Linked DNA regions of Homo sapiens: all the other regions are linked to region 1. The links are contacts of gene promoters, found by promoter capture Hi-C in blood cells and fetal thymus (Javierre and others, 2016). All regions are on one chromosome and are shown on one strand. The core of a region is centred on a gene start or on the middle of the fragment in contact, and the rest is flanking DNA. Distances in the headings are between cores, read along the strand shown. Region 1 holds the start of ALG5 (ALG5 dolichyl-phosphate beta-glucosyltransferase). Region 2 holds the start of VPS36 (vacuolar protein sorting 36 homolog). Region 3 holds the start of SUGT1 (SGT1 assembly cochaperone of MIS12 kinetochore complex). Region 4 has its middle 16 kb from the start of HNRNPA1L2.

Region 1 (3,144 bases), core at 6-2,505:
GCTGTTAAAGAAGGAGCGGGTCTCCCTCTTTATAAAAGAGCTGGTGCTGTGACTCAGAATAACACCAACAGTTCGGAGATAACAGGGTTTCTAGCGCAGAATCAAGCAGTGCGTGTGGAGCGTTATTCCAATGTTTCTGCGTCTTTTTTCTGCCTGTGACTTAGGCTCAGCCCTGGCCTTGCCTCTTCACTGGTCAAGGGCTCCGTGCTCCAACACATGAGAAACCTGAACTTTTTTTTTTTTTTTTTTTGAGACAGAGTCTCGCTCTGTCGTCCAGGCTGGAGTGCAGTGGCGCGATCTCGGCTCACTGCAAGCTCCGCCTCCCGGGTTCACGCCATTCTCCTGCCTCAGCCTCCCGAGTAGCTGGAACTACAGACGCCCGCCACCGCGCCCCGCTAATTTTTTGTATTTTTAGTACAGACGGGGTTTCACCGTGTTAGCCAGGATGGTCTCGATCTCCTGACCTTGTGATCCGCCCGCCTCGTCCTCCCAAAGTGCTGGGATTACAGGCGTGAGCCACGGCGCTCGGCCGAGAAACCTGAACTTTCTGTGCGCTCATTGTCCGCACCACGTTCTGCTCTGCAGGTCCCGGAGCTGAGGGCTCCTAAGCATCACCTTGTGTTGTAGACTGTGTCGTGCTCAAGGCTGCCATCTCCCTCCTAGGTGGGGTTACCAGATAAAATACAGGATACCACGTTAAATTTGAATGTCTGATAAACACAGCGTGGTTTTTTTGTTTTTTGTTTTTGTTTTTTTGTGGGTTTTTTTTTTTTTAAAGCATGAGTATGCCCCAAATAGAGCATGCAATTAGTTGTTGCCAGAACCTGGAGGGAGCTGGGAAGGCTTTACAGATAGATAGTGGTGATGGTTGCACAGTATGTATGTAATTAATGCCACTCACTATTGTAAACTTAAAATGATTAAAATGGCAACTTTTTATTTTACCACAGTTTATAAAAACTAATGTAATAAACCAGAAACCTGTAACTGGATGAGTCGTATGGTATGTGGCTATCTTAATAAGGCTGTTAAAAACATGATTAGTTTTTTAATCTGAAATTCAAATTAAGTAGACGTCTTGCATACTTGATAAACCTGGCGCCCCGCTGTGGAACCTAGCGCTCCTCTCCACCGACTGGGCGCCGAGGGCACGAGAGCGGCGTTTTCTCCGCCTCGCCACGCGGGGGCGCTGCGGCCAGCGGGCGCGACCTCTCTGGCGGCGGGGCCGGGTCGCGCGGGCGCGCTTCCGCCTGTGTGGAGGTGCGGGATTGGGCGGGCTGCCACGGCATGGAGAATGGCTCCGCTTCTGTTGCAGCTGGCGGTGCTCGGCGCGGCGCTGGCGGCCGCAGCCCTCGTACTGGTGAGAACAGGGATGGGAACCCGCGCAGGCCGGGGCTTACCGCTCTCCTGGAGACTGCGGCTCCTCAGGCGTCCCCTCCTCCGCGCTACCAGTTCTCGGAGAAGTCCCTTTTCCCCTAGATTCCCCCAAATTCCTGACCTCGGAGTTTCCTGGAGTTTCACTCTCCTTTTCTTCGGTTCTTTAATTTTCCCTTGGAATCTTATCTCTTTGTGTGCTCAGAGACTTGTAAGTTTTTTCACACTGGAGCGCACCCACCCGGCCTGGCATCATCGCCGCTTCCATCGCCCCTGGCGCCCGCGCCCCCTACCCACCTCCTCTGTCAACCTCGACCTCTCCCAGACTCTCCGGGACCTGCAGCCGCTGCAGTTCTGCTCCACCCAGGGAGGTCTCGAGCCCCCAGAAGGGGTGTGCTCCCTAGCCTGCTCCCTTGGCTGATGTGGTTAAGCAAATAGGGGTGACGGAGCCTTGACGGCAGCCATCTGTTACAAATGGGAATAAATGCGTGGATCGATGAGACCCACTAGGGACGCAGGGTGAGCGAGAGAGACAGGCCTCAGGCGCCTTGTCCGGGGTCGCATTGTGTCCCAGAATTAAGCACCCTAAATATACTGCCCCTAAACAAGGCAGGACGATAGAATGCAAACTCGATTGTCTTTGCCCTTGCTCTCGAAACACAAAAACATTGTAAACACTTGCTGATTGTTAAGTGGTAGAAAATTGGCGAACTCTCTCCCGCACACCTTGGAATGAGCCTGCCCTCTAGTTAGTAAGTGGAGAGGATTTCAGCTTCCTTGACATTCAGATTAGCCACCTAGACAGCACTGCCAGGAAGGCCACTCTGCCATCTTTCCAGAGGTTGTATAAATTTACAGTTTAGATAAAATGTAATGCATCCTTACTTCTTTGTTGATAGTATCTGGGTGAGAGAGGAGTCCTCTCTTGCCCTAACTAGTAGAGATTTCAGGGTTTAGGGCTTTTTTGTTTTTTCAAGTTTTTGAGCAAACCAGGATTGATTGATTGATTGATTGATTTTTGGCGGGGTGCGGGCGGGGAGTGGATTCACACATTCTTAGATTGAAGCTGCCTTACTTTGGGTCTTTTGCACAGATTTTATGGGATTGTACTGACGGTATTTGTTCCCACTAGCTTGAAGTGATAAGAGCTACCATTTATTGATTGTAGTACTTACTATATGTTGTGTTGCACTTGGTTTAATAGGAGTTATTAAATCTTTAACACTGTGACATATATGTTATCATTAGCATTATTTTACTGGTGAGGAAACATGTTGGAGAAATGAGCTCGTGTACTCAAATGTTGCACAACTAGTGAAACTTAGGTTTTTTAAATGCCAGAGCAAGAAATCATTAAAAAAATAATTTTTCAAAACCTCATCCTGTCTTCATATGTATCCACTCTCCATTACTCACAGTCTCACCTCCTTTCTGAATTATTTTAAAACAACTCGAAGACATTTTATCTTTAAATCCTCAGCATTTATTTCTAACAGATAAGGTCCTTCTTTTTAAAATACCACAATAAAGTGGTCACAGATTTAAATTTATTCTGTGATTTCAAATGCCCCCTCAGTTCACTTGCCCTCACTTGTCTCATATATGTCTCAGTATATATGTCTGTTTGTTCCAATCAGGATCCAAACAAGTGCCACACATTGTACTCTGTTGATGTCTTGAGTCTCTTAATCAGTTGACAGTTTCTCCTCCCCCTTTTTTTCTTTTCCTTGTCTTTTTTTTTTTTTTTTTTTTTTGAGACGGAGTCTGGCT
Region 2 (3,454 bases), core at 307-2,806, about 15 Mb before region 1:
ACTCCACGACTGGGGGAAATGTGGAGCCCTGGGGGCAGAGAGCAAGCCTGCCCTCTGTCCCTCTGCCCCTGTGCCCCTCTGCCCACGTGGGCACGCAGCCTTAGTTAAGACCCCAATAAGTGGTAGGCTCTCTAAAATGTGTTCACAACCTTTAAAGCAGTCATTCTATTTTAGGAAGACACTGTAAGAAAATAATCCTAAAGAGAAAAATATGTATCAATTGTAGAAGGACATCTATAAGCTGCTCCATTTATTTATTTATTTATTATTTATTATTATTATTTTTGAAGCAGAGTCTCGTTCTGTCGCTCAGACTGGAGTGCAATGGTGCGATCTCGGCTCACTGCAACCTCTACCTCCAGGGTTCAAGCGATTCTCTTGCCTCAGCTTCCCGAGTAGCTGGGATTACAGGCACCCGCCACCACGCCGGGCTAATTTTTTGTATTTTTAGTAGAGACAGGGTTTCTCTATGTTAGCCAGGCTGGTCTCGAACTCCTGACTTGTGATCCGCCCGCCTTGTCCTCCCAAAGTGCTGGGATTACAAACGTGAGCCACCGCGCCCGGCCAGGTGTTCCATTTATAAAGCAAAATACAAAAATGAAATGGCTAGGGGCACGAGGCCGCCTGGTGGGTGAGAGCAGCGGCCATGGATGGCTTTGCGCAGACCAACAAACAGCTAAATTATAGAGGAACTACATATTGAAATGTAAATTCACGCATGAGGTCTGTATTAATATTGAAAATGCCTAAATAAAAATAATCTTTTTTTTCTGAGCCTGGGGGTGGGGGAGTGGAGTGGCGTGGGGGAGTTGGGGTGGAGGGGGAAAGGGTCTTTCTATGTCGCCCACTGGTGTCAAACTCCTGGGTTCAAGCAATCCTCCCGCCTCAGCTTCGGAAGCAGCTGGGAATACAGGCGCGCGCATCAAGCCCGGTTAAATAAAATCTGTTTCCCCCAGTTAAAAAAAAATTAATTTGTGTGGGTACATAGGTGTATATATTTCTGGGGTATATGGGATATTTTGATACAGGCATACACTGTATAATAATCACATCAGGGTAAATGAGGTATCCGTTACCTCAAGCATTTATCCTTTGTGTTACAATATAATCTTAAAGGGAAAAAAAGAGCAGCACAGGTAGTACTGACTGCAGCTGTACAGAAACAATGCGTGCCATAAATATTCATTTGAAAGAGAGGGGTTATGATTATTTACAATCATTAGCGAATGTAGCAACATTCTGGGCACTGACAAGAAAACTGCCACAAACATGCAGGCATAATGCACAATAAGCAAGTCCAAGCTGTGGTCGGGGCTCCCTCGCGTCCCTGTAAGCTCTGAATTTAGAATGGGGTGGACCGCCTGCTGATCAAGGGTTCTGAAAGGCCGGCGGCTAATGGACCGCCAGGGGGCGCTCCACGCACGTCTCCACGTCCCCGGGCGCACCTCGCAGCCGCGCCCGCTCGCTGCCAGGCCGCTCCCTCCGTCCCTCACCCGCCCCGACTCGCTTCCGTCCCGTCCGACGCTAGGGGGCGCCGCAGGCTGCCTGGCGCGCTGCTCGCGGCCTCGGAGGGCCGGGGCTGGGTGGCAGCGGCCATGGACCGCTTCGTTTGGACCAGCGGCCTCCTGGAGATCAACGAGACCCTGGTGATCCAGCAGCGCGGGGTGCGAATCTACGATGGCGAGGAGAAGGTAGGGCGTCTGCCAACCTTCCCAACGGGCTGGCGGAAGGGACCCCCGGTGGGCGCGCGGCCCGGCTCAGCGCGGCCCGGGTCGGCGCGGCCCGGTCCCCGGCTTAGCTCACGGCCCTCGGCGGCCCGGCAGGCCTCTGTGCGGGGTGCAGCGCTCTTGCGCTCCCCGCCGGTCGGTAGCACGTGGCGTGGGGCGCTCGGCTGCCTCCCCAGCGCGGGTCCCAACTTTGGCACGGTTCCCAGCAGGCGCGGATCGCGGCCGCTTCCCTCCGCCCGGAATGCTTCCGGGAGCGCACAGCTGCAGTGCCCGGGAGAAGGAGCGCTCGCCGTCTGCGGGCGCCGGGCGGCGATCCGGCAGTCGACTTCCTTGGCGTGGTTCCAGACCCCCTGACGACACCAACCTCGGCGTCGGCACCGGACAGCCCCGTTTCGCCTTTCTGTGAGGAGGGCGCGGTGGCCGTACAGTCCGTGCCCCAGCGGAAGCTTTAGCTTGGACCTTATGCAGTCGGAGGGATTAGCATATCTGGGCAGAGGGGTGAGGGATTGCTTCGAAAGGATTTCCTAAAGAGGTATCAGTGCTTCATTGGAATGCCCTTGCCAAAGGCTATTGGGTTTTTGTTTTGTTTTCTAATTGCTTTAGAAAGGCGTTCTGAGCGTGTTTTGTAAAGTGTTATATTAATAGTAGACCGTGCCTTGTAGTGCAAGCATAAATCTTAGAAGGTGCGTTTGCAAATCGAGAGGAGAAATAGGAAGTGTAAGTAAATATTTTGTAGATACTTTACTGAAACTATGAAATATCTTGTCCTGGATTGAAATGGATAAACTGGAATTAGAAAAATTTTAAAACTCATTTACCCACAAGCATTTTTGGTTTCCAGAAGTTTTAATTTGCTACCTCTCTTCCCTTGCCGTTTTATTAACGACACTTTCCGCTGTACTTTGATATAAGTTCCTCAACTCAGCTTTTCCTGGTAAGTGCTTACAGCTATTTAGAGGCACAGGTGACATTGGACCCAGGTCCTCTGACTCTCTTAGGGCATTTTCTATGGGCTGTGTTGCCTGTATTAGTGAGTAAAGGTCTTTTCCTTAAATAATTTGCTTGGACCTAACTTCACTTACTGCCTTAGCACTTCTTAATTTAATTAATTAATTTATTTATTTTGAGACAGAGTCTCGCTCTATCGCCAGGCTGGAGTGCAGTGGCGCGATCTGGGCTCACTGCAACCTCCGCCTCCCAGATTCAAGATCCTGCCTCAGCCTCCTGAGTAACTGGGATTACAGGCGCCTGCAACCATGCCCGGCTAATTTTTGCATATTTAGTAGAGACGGGGTTTCACCACATTGGCCAGGCTGGTCTCTAACTCCTGACCTCAAATGATCCGCCCGCCTGGGCCTCCCAAACAGCTGGGATTACAGGCTCTTGAGCCACTGTGCCCAGCCTGCCTTGGCACTTTAACTATCTTGATCTCAAGATGAGTCTTCCATCCCCGGATTGGAGTGACAAGCTATTTTTTTCTCCTTTCTTACCAATTTACATCTTTGTGACTATTTAAAATGGGAAGGTTAATCCACCTCCCCTTCCTCGGTGTTTTGATTTTGCCTCCCCTTTGAGAGGAACCGAATGTTGACAGTGTTAGATCTGTCCTCAGAGACTCCTCCAGTGCCACTCCCTGAGGGAGCACTAGGAAGTCATGCTTTTGCAGAGCATGGCATGATACTGTTCTATGGAACTCCAATTTGAAGACTAGGAACACCTTTGCTGGC
Region 3 (3,174 bases), core at 267-2,766, about 16 Mb before region 1:
AGGTCTAACACGACAATAACAAATGTAAATTAAAAGTCATAGCTGTCTAGCTAATACAAGAAATTATGGAGAAAAATTCTCAGTGCTTCCTGTAACATTATCCCCAAACTCATCCCAGAAGCCTTACTCCCAGTATCTAAAGGTCTATATATTTAGGTGTAAAAAACACACCTGGACCCTAAAAGGCCTTATAGGACCTGGCTCCTAGTTTCCTGTCCAACCTCTCTTAATCAAATGGGCCCTCTAATAAAAAGGGCCTTTTTGTTGCTTCACATACAGGCCAACTTCATTCCTACCTCAAGATCTGCACTGGCTCTTGGTCCTGCCTGGAATATTCTTTCCCCAGAGCTTCCAAGTTAATTCCCTTGTTCCTTCAAATCTCCACTCAAAGATCTCCTCAACGGAGGCTCTAGTACCATGTGGCACATTTCTTATAAAAGTCATAGCTAGAAAAGACGCTGTCTTGCCTCAAATTGTTAAACGTAACAGCAAAACAGGTTTCCTCTTTTCTGTGATTTAACGCAAAAACAAACAAAAACTCCTGGCTAAATTCTGTGACCCGCAGCATCATTTATCTTTAGGTTCTCCTTTAATTCTTATTATTTAACTCTTGATCTTTTACATTCCTTTACAGCTTTATGGTTTGCCTTCATTGCACACCTACAAAAAGTGATTTCTAGGTTAGCTGAGTATATAACCAAGACTTTAACCCACAGCAATCAGCGCCTTTGCACACAGCCACTCCAAAAAAAAATTTTGATGAATATACAAATGAGTGAATAATGAATTGTGATAAGACATCTGGAAAGTTTCAGGGACGTGAGGGAAAAGGGTTTTGCTCCAGTAGACTGACTTCATACCGACACTTTTACGTAAGAATGGCAAGAATTATTGTCAAACGAAAAAATTAACTTCATCGAGCCCAGAGTCCACTTCTCTAATCATAAATGTCATTAAAAAAAAAATCCTTTCAGCCAAACTACAAATGCCAACCATGCTCCCAAGAAATAGAGGAGGTTTTTCTCAGGAGCTGTAGGGAGTGGAAAGGGCAAGACAGGAGTCTGGGGTAACGCGGCTACCGTGTAACAGAGAAAAGAGACGGAGAATCTCAATACCGGAGCTGAGACGCAGCATCAACAAGAGCCTGGGTCCCTGTCCGGCGGTGCGGGGAGAAGGCGGGTCAGCGGGGACCCGAAGTGGCCCAGCTCCCCTAAGAAGAGTGGAGGAAGCAGAAATGGGCTCTCTCACCTCTAACGCCGCCTGGGGGTCCTCGTCGATTAGGGCATCCGAGAAGCTCTGGAAAAACCTGTCAGGAAAACAACGACTTCAGCAGGGCTCACTAGCCAAGGAAAGGGGGATAAAATAAATACCAAAGGGAAAGAAAAACATGCACCTCTGGGATGTTGCAGTTCCTGCTGCAGCCGCCGCCATCCCTCGTAGTCGCTGTTGCTGCCGCCGGAGCTGCTACTATCACGGTTACCACCTCCACCACCGCCCAAGGGGGAAACTTCTGGAGAAACACCAACCGAGCTTCCGTCCTAAATAGCCAGCGAGCAGCCACGCAGCGTGCTGCTAGGGGGACGGGAGGCGACACGCCGGCGCGGGGCCGGCTGGGACAGTGGAGGACCGATTCCTCCCAGCCGCACCCCGGCCCAGGACCCGCGCTCCCAGTCCCCGCCCCTCGCAGCCATGGTTACGGAGGCCTGGGGCGTACACGTTCTTCCTCCCTTCCACCGCGCCCACGCCAGCGGGCACTCCCACGGAGCTTTCAGTAGTACTTTAGAAGCACTTTTGTAACGTACTGTCATCCCTAAGGAACGTGTGGCGGTTAGGGGCGTTTGTATGTCTGTTAATAACGGAAGCTACTTCGAGCTCCCATTTTCCCTAGTTTTTATCATGGCTGCCACAGCTAGCCAAGCCCTTTCGCCTCCATTACGTCTTTAGCGGCTGCGTGGTCTCTTCCGGGAGCAGAGGCCCGGATGACGCGTGGATCCCCGCGATCTTTGGGCTGGGGATTCTAAACGACTGGGACTTGCCGGAAGTCATTCTGCACTAATAGCGGCAAAAAGCCTTCTGGTTCCTGGGGCGACGCGCCCGGCGGCCGTACTATTCACTTCCCCAGAACGCCACAGCCCAGGCTTTCTTCTTAGTGGGCTTCCCAGACCAAGAAGGGAAACCTTTCATCCGAAGGTACTGAGGGGAGGAAGGTGGCCTGAAGTTATCTCAGTGCCGCTTTGTTTCCCACCCCAGTCGGTCAGCCCTTCCTCAGCGCCCTTTAACCCTTGCAGATCGGATGGAGAAAGCTGCCAGCACGTTCTAGGGATGGGGGCAGATTGAGGAGCGGGAGGGAGTAGTCTTTGTCTAACTTTATACCAGTACCAAACTATGTTAATTTAATGTAGTTTTATAATAAATCTTTAAGTCCTGTAACTTATTCTCCCAAGATTGTTTTGGCTTATTCTACGGCCTTTGTATTTCTAGGTGAATTTTGGAATTAGCTTGTTAAAAAGGGGGGGGATTTTTTATTGGGCTCGCATTGAATCTATAGATCTGTTTGGGAAAACTAGTATCTTAACAACAAGTCCTTCAATCCATGAATATCATTCTTCCCCCACCATTTATTTAAGCGGTCTTTAATTTCTCCTGGCAATATTTTGTAGATTGCACATATATCTATATTTTAATGCAGCTGTGCTTGGATAGATTGCAGTATAGAGATCATATATATCTTTCATTAGATTTATTCTTGAGTATTTAGTGTTTTGTATACAATGTTAAATGGCATTTTGACTTTTTTATATTCTACTCGTAAGAATAAACAATATTGATTTTAACATACTGACCTTATATGCAAGCATCTTGCTAAGTTCCCTTGTTATTTGTAATACTCTGTAGATTCTTTCGGAATTTCTGTGATCAAAATCTTGCAATCCACGAATAAAGATGGTTTAACTTCTCTGTAACCTTTATACCTTTTATTTTTATTTATTTTTGCCTTTTGTTGCTGGCTAGTGTTTCCACTATTGAATAAAAACAGTGATAATGGACTTCCTTGTCTTGGTCATAACATCAGGAGGAAAGCATTGAATATCAACTGCTTTTTCTGCCTTTATTGAAATGTTCATTTGTATTTTTTAATGTTACTGTGAATTACCTTGGTTAGTTTTCAAATGT
Region 4 (3,395 bases), core at 469-2,968, about 16 Mb before region 1:
TATCATTCCTTGTTTCATGGACAAGAAACTGTAACTTCCTAAAAGGACAGTAACTATTCAATTGGTCTCTTAAAACTATAATCTTACTTAAGACATAAGTTTTTTAAAAACTTGAATTGCTAAAATTCTACTTATATGGTATATTCTATATGTAAATTCCACTTATGTGGTATATATTATGTGTATTACTTACTAGCCACATGAAAATGGCCTATTTTGAGATATAAACATTACTAACCTAATGGTTTGATTCACTTACCTAACTAGGTCTCTCTCCATCTCTCTGTGCCCCTGACTCTTCCTCATGCTACGGAGCTGCCTGAGCAGTTCTGGCTTGTTTGCTTGTCAAAACAGAGCAGCAGATGCAGCTGCCACCAACTCAGGACTCAGGGGCTCATTTCTGAAAAAGAAAATGAAAACCAAATGAGAAAGAAAAAAGAGAGATTGCTTATTATGCCAGTAGTTTAGTGAAAAGCAAAATGATTTTGGGGGGAAAATTTTCTGTTGATCAAAAAAGTATCATTCAATTCAATATCTGACAAAAGCAGGAATTCTCAACTATTAGGTACCAGTTTTATATAAACTTTGAAATGCTAATTCAGAACAATATATTAAGGTGGAGGGATGAGGGATCAGCCTCAAAAATTATAAATTAGTGGAATTTTCAATTAGATGCTATTGTATTTCAAAAACAATATATATTGCAAGCAAATATTAAGGCAGCTTAACCTGTTCACAGAAGCTTTACTCATAATAGCCCCAAACTGGAACCAACCTAAGGTCTGTTGTTAGAATGAAAAAACAAATTGTCAGATATCCAAACAATGGAAGAGTACTCAGCTCATGCCAACATGAATGATTCTCACAGATATTAGAGCAAGTGAAAGAAGTTGGACACAGAATATATTCTGTATGATTCCATTGCTGTCAAGTGCCAGAACAGGCAAAACTAATCTGAGGTGAAAAAACAATCAAGACAACAATTGCCTCAGGACAGAAGGCTACTAACTGGGAAGGTGAAAATGGGAAACACAGTGTCTTGGTTAAGTGTGTGGGTCACATGGGCTTATCCATTTGTCAAAATCCTCCAGCTAAGATTTGTACACTTTAATGTATGTAAATTTTACCTGAAAAAAAAAAGCCATCAATCATTATCAAGTAGGAGATGAAAACTGGGTGAAGGTATATATAATACAAGAATAGTAAAATGTTGATCATTGTTGAAGCTGGGTGACAGTATAAAGGGGTTCACTGTACCATTTTGCGTACTTTGCGTATATTTTAAATTTTTCATAAGAAAAAGCTTTTAAAAGCTTCCTAAATAAATTAGAGCAAGTTAATATAAAAACATCCTATTATGAAAAGAAAGTAAACTGTATACAACATTGTTTCCTTTTTTTTTTTTTTTTTTAAGAGATGGGATCTCAGTATGTCGTGAAGTCTGGCCTCGAAGTCCTGGGTTCAAGCAATCCTCCCACATCATCTTCCTGAGTAGCTTGGACTACAGGCATCTGTCACCATACCTGGCTATTTGCGACATTTTTAAACTCACTGAGAACTGCCATCTCAATAAGTGGGACCCAAATTAATATTTTATTATGCCTGGCTTTCTGTATTATGATCTATTACCTAATATTCAAATTAAAGCTCCCAAATTCCTAAAGTTCTTGGAGAAAGATTTTAAGGACTTAATTGAGATATATATGGAAGATCTAAAATCTGATAGGAATGGAAGAAAAATAGAAGAATGAAAAAAGGGGTTCAGCATGGTGGCTCATGCCTGTAATTCCAGCACTCTGGGAGGCCAAGGAGGGAGGATCGCTTGAGCTCAAGAGTTCAAGACCAGCCTGGGCAAGATGGCAAAACCCCATCTCCACAAAAAGAAAAAAAAAAATTAGCCAGGAGTGGTGGCACATGCCTACAGTCCCAGCTACTTGAGAGGTTGAGTGGAAGGATCACTTGAGCCTGGGAGGTTGAGGCTGCAGTGAGTGATGATTGTTCCACCACACTCCAGAATGGGCCACAGAGCAACACCCTGTCTCAAAAAAAGAAAAAGAAAAAAGGAAATATAATAGTTAAAATGAAATGTACTTTCAGAACTGTTATCTGTGAATAAAGCTTTAACCGTATTCCACATCATTGTTATTTCTTTCATAAACCACTTGTAAACTTCATTTTCAAATTTTAATATATGTATTTGATCAGAGTAGGCACAGAACATAGGTGAATATTCATTTTTCAGAATCATGCATTTCATAACAATAATTTCCTTCATAGTTATAGTCTCTGGCTTTATAATTTATAAAGTTCTAATTAATAAAAATTGTAGGGAGCCTGTGTCATTGAACAAGATAATTTTTACATACAAGGATCTTTCTTCATAGATTTTAACAATGTAATGAGAACTTGTTAAAGTATCTTTCAGGGCTTCGTGGTGGCTCATGGCAGTAATCCCAGCACTTTAGGAGGCCGAGGCAGGTGGATCACCTGAGGTCAGGAGTTCGAGGCCAGCCTGGTCAACATGGTGAAACCCCATCTCTACTAAAACCAAAAAAATTAGCCAGGCATTGTGGAGTGCACCTGTAATCCCAGCTACTCAGGAGGCTGAGGAAGGAGAATCGCTTCAACCTAGAAGGCGGAGGTTGCAGTAAGCCGAGATCACACCACTGCACTCCAGCCTGGGCAAAAAACAGCAAGACTCCATCTCAAAAAAAAAAAAAGTATCTTTTAACAATCTATTCAATCCTGTAATTAAAACTATTTCATGAATACATACTTTTCCCCTTCATAACTTTTTTTTTTATTTTGAGATAGGGTCTCACTCTGTTGCCCATGCTGGAGTGCACTGGCACAATCTCGGCTCACTGCATTGTCCACCTCCCGGGTTCAAGGGATTCTCCCACCTCAGCCTCCCGAGTAACTGCGATTACAGTCCCATGCCACCACACCCGGCTAATTTTTGTATTTTTGTGATAGACACAGGGTTTCACCATGTCGATCAGGTAGGTCTCAGCTCCTAACCTCAAGTGATCTGCCCACCTTGGCCTCCCAAAGTGCTGGGATTACAGGCATGAGCCACTGCTCCAGGCCCCTCGAGAATACTTTTAAATCATCTCTAGATTACTTGTAATACCTAATATAACAAATGCTACATAAGTAGTTGTTATACTGTATTTTTTAATTGGTATTTTTTTCTGTGTTTCTTAAAAAACGTTATCAGAAGTTATCTGTGGATGCAGAACCTACGCATACAGAGGGCCAAATGTATATTACTCCATTCCTATCAATGACATTATCCTTGTTAAGACGGTGTCTCAGAAGTGGTTGTGGTAAAAACAAATATCCTAGGAAAATCAATGTGGAAGAGGGTAAACATGGTAATGTCCAATCTTATT

The links. Contacts are between HindIII fragments. The CHiCAGO score rates a contact against its expected background, and 5 or more counts as called.
Region 2: a contact is called between the fragment with the promoter of VPS36 here and the fragment with the promoter of ALG5 in region 1, in 1 of 17 cell types (non-activated CD4 T cells). The highest score is 8.5, in non-activated CD4 T cells.
Region 3: a contact is called between the fragment with the promoter of SUGT1 here and the fragment with the promoter of ALG5 in region 1, in 1 of 17 cell types (activated CD4 T cells). The highest score is 12.0, in activated CD4 T cells.
Region 4: a contact is called between a fragment that was not itself captured here and the fragment with the promoter of ALG5 in region 1, in 1 of 17 cell types (naive CD8 T cells). The highest score is 5.6, in naive CD8 T cells.

Annotation. Positions count from the first base shown.
Region 1 is chr13:36,997,451-37,000,594 of GRCh38, reverse strand. ALG5 (ALG5 dolichyl-phosphate beta-glucosyltransferase) reads left to right here and starts at 1,255. Exons shown (of 10, transcript NM_013338.5): 1 at 1,255-1,360. The coding sequence starts at 1,295. RefSeq lists enhancers at 1-69, 530-579 and a silencer at 1,040-1,339. The HindIII fragment of the contact is 11,758 bases long and covers 1-3,144 here.
Region 2 is chr13:52,448,736-52,452,189 of GRCh38, reverse strand. It overlaps VPS36 (vacuolar protein sorting 36 homolog), which reads left to right and starts at 1,556. Exons shown (of 14, transcript NM_016075.4): 1 at 1,556-1,691. The coding sequence starts at 1,596. RefSeq lists silencers at 1,310-1,369, 1,410-1,869 and an enhancer at 1,390-1,970. The HindIII fragment of the contact is 2,912 bases long and covers 1-2,175 here.
Region 3 is chr13:52,651,178-52,654,351 of GRCh38, reverse strand. SUGT1 (SGT1 assembly cochaperone of MIS12 kinetochore complex) reads right to left here and starts at 1,516. Exons shown (of 13, transcript NM_006704.5): 1 at 1,394-1,516; 2 at 1,249-1,306. The coding sequence starts at 1,431. SUGT1-DT (SUGT1 divergent transcript) reads left to right here and starts at 2,045. Exons shown (of 1, transcript NR_170300.1): 1 at 2,045-3,047. RefSeq lists enhancers at 1,036-1,155, 1,265-1,766, 1,876-2,215 and a silencer at 1,516-1,785. The HindIII fragment of the contact is 4,517 bases long and covers 1-3,174 here.
Region 4 is chr13:52,624,443-52,627,837 of GRCh38, reverse strand. It overlaps a transcript of HNRNPA1L2 not described here. Among named protein-coding and RNA genes, the nearest start is that of HNRNPA1L2, 16 kb to the left of the region's middle. The HindIII fragment of the contact is 805 bases long and covers 1,316-2,120 here.